2 separate regions of the Homo sapiens genome follow, and region 1 is linked to region 2. The links are contacts of gene promoters, found by promoter capture Hi-C in human tissues and cell types (Jung and others, 2019). All regions are on one chromosome and are shown on one strand. The core of a region is centred on a gene start or on the middle of the fragment in contact, and the rest is flanking DNA. Distances in the headings are between cores, read along the strand shown. Region 1 holds the start of GDPD3 (glycerophosphodiester phosphodiesterase domain containing 3). Region 2 overlaps LOC124903677 (a long non-coding RNA gene).

Region 1 (4,500 bases), core at 1,816-4,315, 430 kb after region 2:
GATACTAAATATCTATATCTGTATATCTATATCTATATCTATCTGTACATGCCTCCATACAGCAGCAAGCTTACCCCACACCCATGGTCAATGTGTCTGGTGACAACAGAAGTGCCCAGGGGGCTGGGTGTGGTGGCTCATGCCTGGAATCCCAGCACTTTGGGAGACTGAGACTGAGAGGAGTGGATCACCTGAGGGTCAGGAGTTTGAGACCAGCCTGGCCTGCATGGTGAAATCCCATCTATACTAAAAATACAAAAATTAGCCGGGCACAGTGGGTCACTCTGGTAATCCCAGCACTTTGGGAGGCTGAGGCAAGTGGATCACCTGAGGTCAGGAGTCCGAGACCAGCCTGCCTGGCCAACGTGGTGAAACCCTGTCTCTACTAAAAATACAAAAATTAGCCGGGCACGTAGGCATGCGCTTCTAGTCCCAGCTACTCAGGAGGCTGTGGTGGGAGGACTGCTTGAACCTGGGAGGCGGAGGTTGCACCACTGTACTCCAGCCTGGGCAACAGTGAGACTCTCTCAAAAAAAAAAAAAAAAGGGCTGGGCACAGTGGCTCATGCCTGTAATCCCAGCACTTTGGGAGGCCGAGGTGGGTGGATCACAAGGTCAAGAGTTGAGACCAGCCTGGCCAACATGGTGAAACCCGGTCTCTACTGTAAAGAATACAAAAATGAGCTGGGTGTGGTGGCACATGCCTATAATCCCAGCTACTCAGGAGGCTGAGGCAGGAGAATTGCTTGAACCCAGGAGGCAGAGGTTGCAGTGAGCCGAGATCGCACCACTGCACTCCAGCCTGGACTACAGAGCAAGACTCCATCTCAAAAAAAAAAAAAAAAATGCCCAAGGCTGCCCAGACTGGTGGCCCACCGAGTCCTCCAGCCCCAAATGTCTCTGCCTGTCAACACCTTGCATCCTCCAGCCCCACAAGCCATTCTAATCTCCTTCTAGGAACAGAACTGGCAAAGAGGCAAGAGGTCACTGAGGGCCTCTGTCACCCAGGTGAGGACCTGAGCCAAGCTTCAGCTCTGGGTGTGGCAGAAGCAGGTGGGGCCATGATTGCTTTGGGAGGGGCCCAGCAGCGCCCAGCCTGACCCAGATTGCCAGGCCTCCTCACACCTGCTGCCAGATCAGCAGTTCACATAGCTGTGGGGACCCCACTGGCCTGCCCCCACCCACGCTGCCTCCTTGCCTCCTCCGGTCTCTTCCTGTCTTCAGCCAGGTGTGGCCTGATAGAAAGAAGGCATGCGCACCTGGGCTCAAACTCCAGCTGTGCCACTTAGTAAGTGCTGTGTGATATTGGGCAAGGCACCTCACCTCTCGGCGCCTCAGTTTCCGGAGTCAATCTATTTATCTTTTTTTTTGGTTTTGTTTTTTTGAGACAGTGTCTCGCTCTGTCACCCAGGCTGGAATGCAGTGGTGCAATCATAGCTCACTGCAGCCTCAAAACTCCTGGGTGCAAGGGATCCTCCCAGCTAGCTGGACGAGCCATTGCAACCGGCTAATTTTTTTTTTTTTTTTTTGTGGAGCTGGGGTCTTGCTATGTTGCCCAGGCCAGTCTCAAACTCCTGGGCTCAAGCGATCCACCACCTCAGCTTCTCAAAGTGCTGGGATTATAGGCGTGAGCCACTGTGCCCGGCCGAGACAGTTCTAATAATGAAAGCATAAAGCCCTAAGCATTGTTCTAAGAGGTTTACATGTATTAATTCCTTTAATCTTACAGCAGTACCTCAAGCTAGGTACTATTATTATCTCCATTTACAGATAAGGAAACTGAGACCCAGCCTATCCAGCTGTGAGGGTGAAATGAGAGATGTTGAGGTCAGGGCTCCAGTGGGTCTGCCCGGGGGGTGCTAACGACTCCTCTTCTGCCTGCTTCTCTCTTTAGGACCTGCCTCCTGCCTGCCCCTCTCCCGCCAGACTGTTAGAAAATGGACACTGTGCCCAGCCCGGACCTTGGCAGCCCAGGCCGGGGTGGAGCATGGGCCTGGCCACCTCTCTCCTTTGCTGAGGCCTCCAGCTTCAGGCAGGCCAAGGCCTTCTCCTCCCCACCCGCCCTCCCCACGGGGCCTCGGGACCTCAGGTGGCCCCAGTTCAATCTCCCGCTGCTGCTGCTGCGCCCTTACCTTCCCCAGCGTCCCAGTCTCTGGCAGTTCTGGAATGGAAGGGTTCTGGCTGCCCCAACCTGCTGAAGGGCAGAGGTGGAGGGTGGGGGGCGCTGAGTAGGGACTCAGGGCCATGCCTGCCCCCCTCATCTCATTCAAACCCCACCCTAGTTTCCCTGAAGGAACATTCCTTAGTCTCAAGGGCTAGCATCCCTGAGGAGCCAGGCCGGGCCGAATCCCCTCCCTGTCAAAGCTGTCACTTCGCGTGCCCTCGCTGCTTCTGTGTGTGGTGAGCAGAAGTGGAGCTGGGGGGCGTGGAGAGCCCGGCGCCCCTGCCACCTCCCTGACCCGTCTAATATATAAATATAGAGATGTGTCTATGGCTGACCCTGGCTCTGTCTGTGTTCGCGACGCCCCCGCCCTGCCCCGTGCGGCTCTGAGGACAGACTTGACTTGGGCTTTCAGGGGCCTGGTGCCCTTCACTCCCAGCTGCCCAGGGCTGGGGACGGGGCTCTGGAGAGCTCCAGACTCCTAGAAAGAAGGGGGTCAGTTTTCCCCTTAGTCACTGTCCTGTCCTCTCGCTAATGGCTTCCTGTCTAACTGGCTGGGGGTGATTCGGGGTGACTCAGGAGCACCCTACACACCCCTGGATCCTCTGAAATGGCAAGGGGTAGGCATGTTGGATGCGCTGGCTACAAGTACCAGTGAGAGGGAGAGGTCCTGACAGTCCTGGGTGGTTTTTACTCCCCTCATGTAGCCCAGGACGGGGCTGCTGGGGGCTGGGAAGGGCCTGGGGATATGAGAGCCAGGGCTACTTGCCTCACCTCCTGACACTACCCCAGCTTCAGCCGAACCCTGCAGCCTGGCTCCAAGCCAGCCCAGCGGCAGGCTCAGCAGGTCCCAGGGGCGTGGCAGTGGCCAGTAGTAGAGCCGGCCCACACTGGCTAGGCAGGCAGCACAGTCCCGCGGACGGCTGAGCGTGTGGCTGCAGGAGCTTCTGTGGGAGTACGGTCATGAGCCTTTTGCTGTACTATGCCCTCCCTGCCCTGGGCAGCTATGCCATGCTCTCCATCTTCTTCCTGCGCCGGCCTCATCTGCTGCACACGCCCAGGGCTCCCACCTTCCGCATCCGCCTGGGGGCCCACCGAGGAGGTGAGCCGGGTAGGGGTGAGAACAGGTGCCAAAGTGGACAGCACAGAGGGGTAGGTCCAAGGGGGCATGCTAGAAACGGGGCAGGGACCAAGAGAGAAGGAGAGCGAAGTGGCAGGGCAGGGTGTGGACGAGGAAGAAGATGCTGGCGCAGCCTGGGCTGGCTGGGGAGGTGAGGCCAGAGGGAGGATGGAGCCCAGAGAGGGAATGTGGGTGATGAGGTTGGGCCAGGCCCCTAGACCCCAAGCCCCAGAGGCCCACTCCAGTGCCCCCCACAGGATCTGGAGAGCTGCTGGAGAACACCATGGAGGCCATGGAGAAGTGAGTGTATCTGCCCCTGCCCAGGCTGCCATGTGAGGGTGTGCAGGTCGTGGACTGCATCACAGCAAGGGACGCCATTCACTTCCTAGCTGGGTGACTGGCGCCCCCTGGAGGTGGCCTGCACATCCCGCCACGAACTCCGCTCTCACATTCCCGGCCACCTCCCAGCCACCATGCCCCTCATCCCAGTCCCCTGCCCCTGCCCCCCGCTGACCTTCACCCCCACAGCTCCATGGCCCAGCGCTCGGACCTCCTGGAGCTCGACTGTCAGCTGACACGGGACAGAGTGGTGGTGGTGTCACATGATGAGAACCTGTGCCGCCAGTCGGGCCTAAACAGGGATGTGGGCAGCCTGGACTTCGAGGTGGGCCCTGCCCTGACACCCCAACCCCCACCCTGAGAGTCACCATGCCCAATGCGGGCCTCTAGTGACATCCTTCCTGTCCTCCCCAGGACCTGCCCCTCTACAAGGAGAAGCTGGAGGTTTACTTCTCTCCAGGTGAGAGCAAGGGCTTCGAGCCCTGCCTGGGCCATGCCTGCCTTCCTTGGACCTCCGCCTTGGCTTCCCTCTGACCCCTTTTCCCACACCACCCCCAGGCCACTTTGCTCACGGGTCAGACCGGCGCATGGTTCGTCTGGAGGACCTGTTCCAGAGGTTTCCAAGGACACCCATGAGCGTAGAGATCAAAGGGAAGAACGAAGAGCTCATCCGTGAGGTGGTGCTGCAGGCAGGGCTAGGGCGGCCACCGGGGGCGTGAGAGAGGCCTGGCTCTCCCTTCACCTCCTTCTCCTCCTCCCAGATAGCAGGCTTGGTGAGACGCTATGACCGTAATGAAATCACCATCTGGGCCTCGGAGAAGAGCTCGGTCATGAAGAAATGCAAGGCTGCCGTGAGTCCCCCCACCCCTCCCCCGTCCTCT
Region 2 (4,583 bases), core at 1,987-4,486:
TCTCGGCTCACTGCAAGCTCCGCCTCCTGGGTTCACGCCATTCTCCTGCCTCAGCCTCCCGAGTAGCTGGGACTACAGGTGCCCGCCACCACGCTCGGCTAATTTTTTGTATTTTTAGTAGAGACGGGGTTTTACCGTGTTAGCCAGGATGGTCTCGATCTCCTGACCTCATGATCCGCCCGCCTCGGCCTCCCAAAGTGCTGAGATTACAGGCGTGAGCCACCACACCCGGCCCAGAGGTCTGTTCTAAGAGGCTTATCTTTTACTGCAATACCACATGGCCTCAATACCAACTGGACAGTGGCTCCCAATGGCCCAAAAATAGCACTTTACAACTTTTGCCATCACAGTGGGAAATGGTCTGAGATTCCTTATGTTCAGGTTTTCTTTAAGGGAGGAGACCACCCCTCATATTGTTTTATGCCCAATTTCTGCCTCCAAAGAAAGAAGAAGTAAAAGGCAGAAATGAAATCCACAAGCAGACAGCCCAGTGCCACACACTGGGCCCGGTAGTTAAAGATCGACCCCTGACCTAATCGGTTATCTTATCTATAGATTACAGACATTGTATAGAAAAGCACTGTGAAAATCCCTGTCCTGGGCTGGGCGCGGTGGCTCACGCCTGTAATCCCAGCACTTTGGGAGGCCGAGGCGGGTGGATCACAAGGGCAGGAGATTGAGACCATCCTGGCTAACATGGTGAAACCCCGTCTCTACTAAATGTACAAAAAATTAGCCGGGCGTGATGGCGGGCGCCTGTAGTCCCAGCTACTTGGGAGGCTGAGGCAGGAGAATGGTGTGAGCCTGGGAGACGGAGCTTGCAGTGAGCAGAGATCGCGCCACTGCACTCCAGCCTGGGTGACACAGCGAGACTCTGTCTCAAAAAAAAAGAAAATCCCTGTCCTGTTCTGTTCCGATCTAATTACCGGTGCATGCAGCCCCCAGTCATGTGCCCCGTGCTTGCTCAATAGATCACAACCCTCTCACGTGGACCCCCTTAGAGTTGTGAGCCCTTAAAAGGGATAGGAATTGCTCACTCGGGGAGCTTGGTTGTTGGAGAAGTGAGTCTTGCTGAAGCACCTGGCCGAATAAAGCCCTTCCTTCTTTAACTCGGTGTCTGAAGGGTTTTGTCTGCAGGTTGTCCTGCTACATCTTCACTCTCTGTAACTGCCATTCCCTCTGTCAGTCTTGTTCTACTTTCTAAATCCTCCTTGTCCGCTCCAAATCTGACTCGCCTCCTATCCTCCTCCCCACAGCCCCAGCTTAGGACGATTCCTCTTCCTTTGACTCTGCCAATTTTCCCCCTCCCCGACAGCATCACGATCCTCCACAGGAGCATCCTAATCCTCCACTGTATGTCCCCGTTCCAGCTCTACCCTTCTCCCCGTCTCTCAAACCACCCCGCTTCTGACTCTGGTTCCTCTCCGTCTCCACCCCTCACCCGCTCTTGGGCCCAACATGTTCAGCAACCAGCTCCCTTACTTCCCCTTCAGGAAGCAGCAGGAGCTGAAAGTATTGTTAGAGTTTATGTTCCCTTCTCCCTCACTGATCTCTCTGTAATTAACAAAAGACTTGGTTCATTTCCAGAAGACCCTACCTCTTATATTAGGAAGTTTCAGTACCTTACCCAGTCTTATGAACTAACCTAGCATAACCCCTACATCATCCTCTCTTCTACCCTCACCCCAGAAGACCGAGACCATAACTGGACCCTAGATCAGGCACATGCTGATACCATTCATCACCAGGCTCCTGCCCAGCCTACTGGTGCAAAGGCAGTCCCCAACCAGGACCACCCTAGGATTATCAAGACGGGGCCTCTGGACGCCACCATTGAGACCACATGATTGTATGTCTCTTTACAGGACTCCAAAAGTTTGCCTATAAAGCGGTAAACTATAAAAAACTTTCAGAAATCACCCAAGGTTCCTAACGAAAACCCAGCCCTTTTTCTCTCTGATTTAACTGAAGCCATGAGAAAATATACCAACCCAGACCCAGCCAGCCCAAAAAGAAACACTATTTTAAACCTTCAGTTTGTCTCCCAATATTTTAAACCTTCAGTTCATCTCCCAATCCACTCCCAATATTTGATGCAAGTTTCAGAAGCTTGACAATGGCCCTCAAACCCCACAATGAGACCTTCTTAATTTAGCCTTCAAAATCTTTAACAATCATAATGAGGAAAATAAAAGGCAAAAACAGGCAAAGTTTCAAATGCTTGCCTTTGCCATTAGAGGCCCTGCAGGCCCACGGGACCGCAGCTCCACATGGAAGCCTCCTAACAATTCACTTCCACCTGGCACCTGTTCCAAGTGTGGCAATAAAGGCCACTGGTCCAGACAATGCCCAAACCCAGGAAAGCCCACCAGGCCATGCCCCCTCTGTGGAGGACCCCACTGGAAGTCAGACTGTGAGTGGCCCCAGCAAGGACTGCCCCCATCCCCTCCTGAGCCAGCCAAAACCTCCTACTCGGATTTCATCGGCCTTGCCACTGAAGACTTGACGGTGCCCTGGAATGAACGCCCCCAGCAACTACCATCTCTTCATTCAAGCCAAAATAACCCTAATGGTGGCAAATGGGCCAGTATATATATTTTTTAAATTAATACCGGGACAAACTACTCTGCTTTACCTAATTTTTCAGGACCCACCCAGTCCTCCCAGGTCTCTGTTGTAGGAATTGATGGACAAGTCACCAAACCCCGAGCCACCCCTCCACTCTTCTGCTCCCTGCACAGTTTTTCCTTCACTCACTCTTCCTTAGTCCTGCCCTCATGTCCAACTCCGCTCCTGGGCAGAGATACCCTTTTCAAAACTCCACACTATTCTCCACCTCCATGGTAACCTACTTAGAAATTCAACTTCCCCTGGGGCCTGGACTGTGACCCCAGCCTGAGCAGCATTAATAATCTACCCCCCGCGCTCTTCCAAACGAGAAATCCTTTCCTTCCCAGGGTTAGCAGGCTTCTTTAGAATATGGATTCTCAACTTTACCCTCCTAGCTTGCCCCCTCTATAAAGCGGCCAAACACCCTCTCGATGAACCCCTAAAACCCTCACATAACATACTCCCCAGCTTCTACAAACTCAAAACCGCTCGTCACTGCACCAACTCTGTCCTTACCTATTATCTCCCAACCTTTCACTCTCCATACTTCCAAAAACTGAGGAATAACCCTCGATGTCTTAGGACAACAGGAAAAAAATCCTCCTTCTTTTGCCCCTGTAACTTACCTCTCTAAACAACTAGATGACACAGTCAAAGGGTGGCCAACCTGCCTTAAAGCACTAGCAGTGGTGGCCATTTTAGCTCTAAAAAGCAGGAAACTAACTTTCAGCCAGAATACCACCGTCTGCAGTCCTCATAATCTACAAGATCTCCTCTCCTCCTGAGCATTAGGCTCCCTTTCTCCTTCATGGATTCAATCACTCCATGCCTTTTTTTTTTTTTTTTTTGAGATGGAGTTTCGCTCTTGCCTCAGTGTCTTGCATAGCTGGGATTACAGGCGTGTGCCACCACGCCTGGCTAATTTTTGTATTTTTAGTAGAGAGGGGGTTTCACCATGTTGGCCAGGCTGGTCCCGAACTCTTGACCTCAGGTGATCCACCCGCCTCAGCCTCCCAAAGTGCTAGGATTACAGGCGTCAACCACCGCGCCCGGCTTACTCCATGCCTTCTTTATCGAAAATCCCAAATTCAGTCTTTTCAAAAGTGCTCCCCTCAACCCAGCATCCTTACTCCCTGTATCTTCTTCCCCTTCTACTCATTCTTATACTAACATCCTAGATCACCTGCAGCCACACTTTCTAAACATTTCCTCCCAGCCTCTCACCAACCCCAATGACCAGCTATTTATAGATAGCTCCTCTTCCGTACCCACTGGCTCCCCCAAAATTGCTGGGTATGCAGTTGTTTTCCTTGGCCGAGTAATTGAAGCTAAACCCCTACCTCCAGGAACCTCCTCTATCCCTCCTCTCCACAATATACAATGCAATCCCTGCCTCAGCCTGTAACTGGACTTCCACCCAAGTAACCTACCATCCCGAAATCCTCATTAACAGCCCCCTCGAACTCGACATGCAGGCATTAACAGAAATCTCCCCTCAGTTAGCTAATGAGTTGGGTCCAGCTGTTACAACCTTACATCCCTATTTACGCAACCTATCCCCCTACCACAGCTGTGATAAACCCGTATTAGGAGCCATAACAACCCACAAAATCTTATCCTATCCAGCACTGCTGTGCATCCAATGACATCTACCCTCTGGCATTCCCCTCAGCCACCTGAATTCCAAACTGCAACTTTACCCTACAACTCAAACCTCCCACCGAACATACTACTCTCAAAGCCGCCAACAAAAAAGACAGGCTTTATTTCTCTAGCCTCCACCTCCTTAACAAAAATTAAGGGTACTGTAATGGCCAACACCTCCCCTGTTTATCCCTCTTCCCTTGACTCCCCTCTCCATGCACCATCCTTACCCTACACCCACCACCCGGGACTGTCTCCTTCTCCCAACATTCAACAACACTCCCACATGCATCTTAGTGGAAACAAAACGCTTCCTCTTACACTGGCAA

What was found. Contacts are between HindIII fragments. The study calls those that stand out against the background at their distance.
Region 1: the fragment with the promoter of GDPD3 here is called in contact with a fragment that was not itself captured in region 2 in 1 of the 25 tissues and cell types used here (dorsolateral prefrontal cortex).

Annotation. Positions count from the first base shown.
Region 1 is chr16:30,112,102-30,116,601 of GRCh38, reverse strand. GDPD3 (glycerophosphodiester phosphodiesterase domain containing 3) reads left to right here and starts at 3,065. Exons shown (of 10, transcript NM_024307.3): 1 at 3,065-3,262; 2 at 3,538-3,580; 3 at 3,809-3,944; 4 at 4,034-4,079; 5 at 4,178-4,296; 6 at 4,381-4,470. The coding sequence starts at 3,124. It overlaps MAPK3 (mitogen-activated protein kinase 3), which reads left to right. Exons shown (of 9, transcript NM_002746.3): 9 at 1,894-2,497. RefSeq lists a silencer at 2,800-3,094. The HindIII fragment of the contact is 6,526 bases long and covers 548-4,500 here.
Region 2 is chr16:30,543,184-30,547,766 of GRCh38, reverse strand. All of the region lies in intron 1 of LOC124903677 (a long non-coding RNA gene), which reads left to right. Among named protein-coding and RNA genes, the nearest start is that of ZNF747-DT, 10 kb to the right of the region's middle. The HindIII fragment of the contact is 5,019 bases long and covers 727-4,583 here.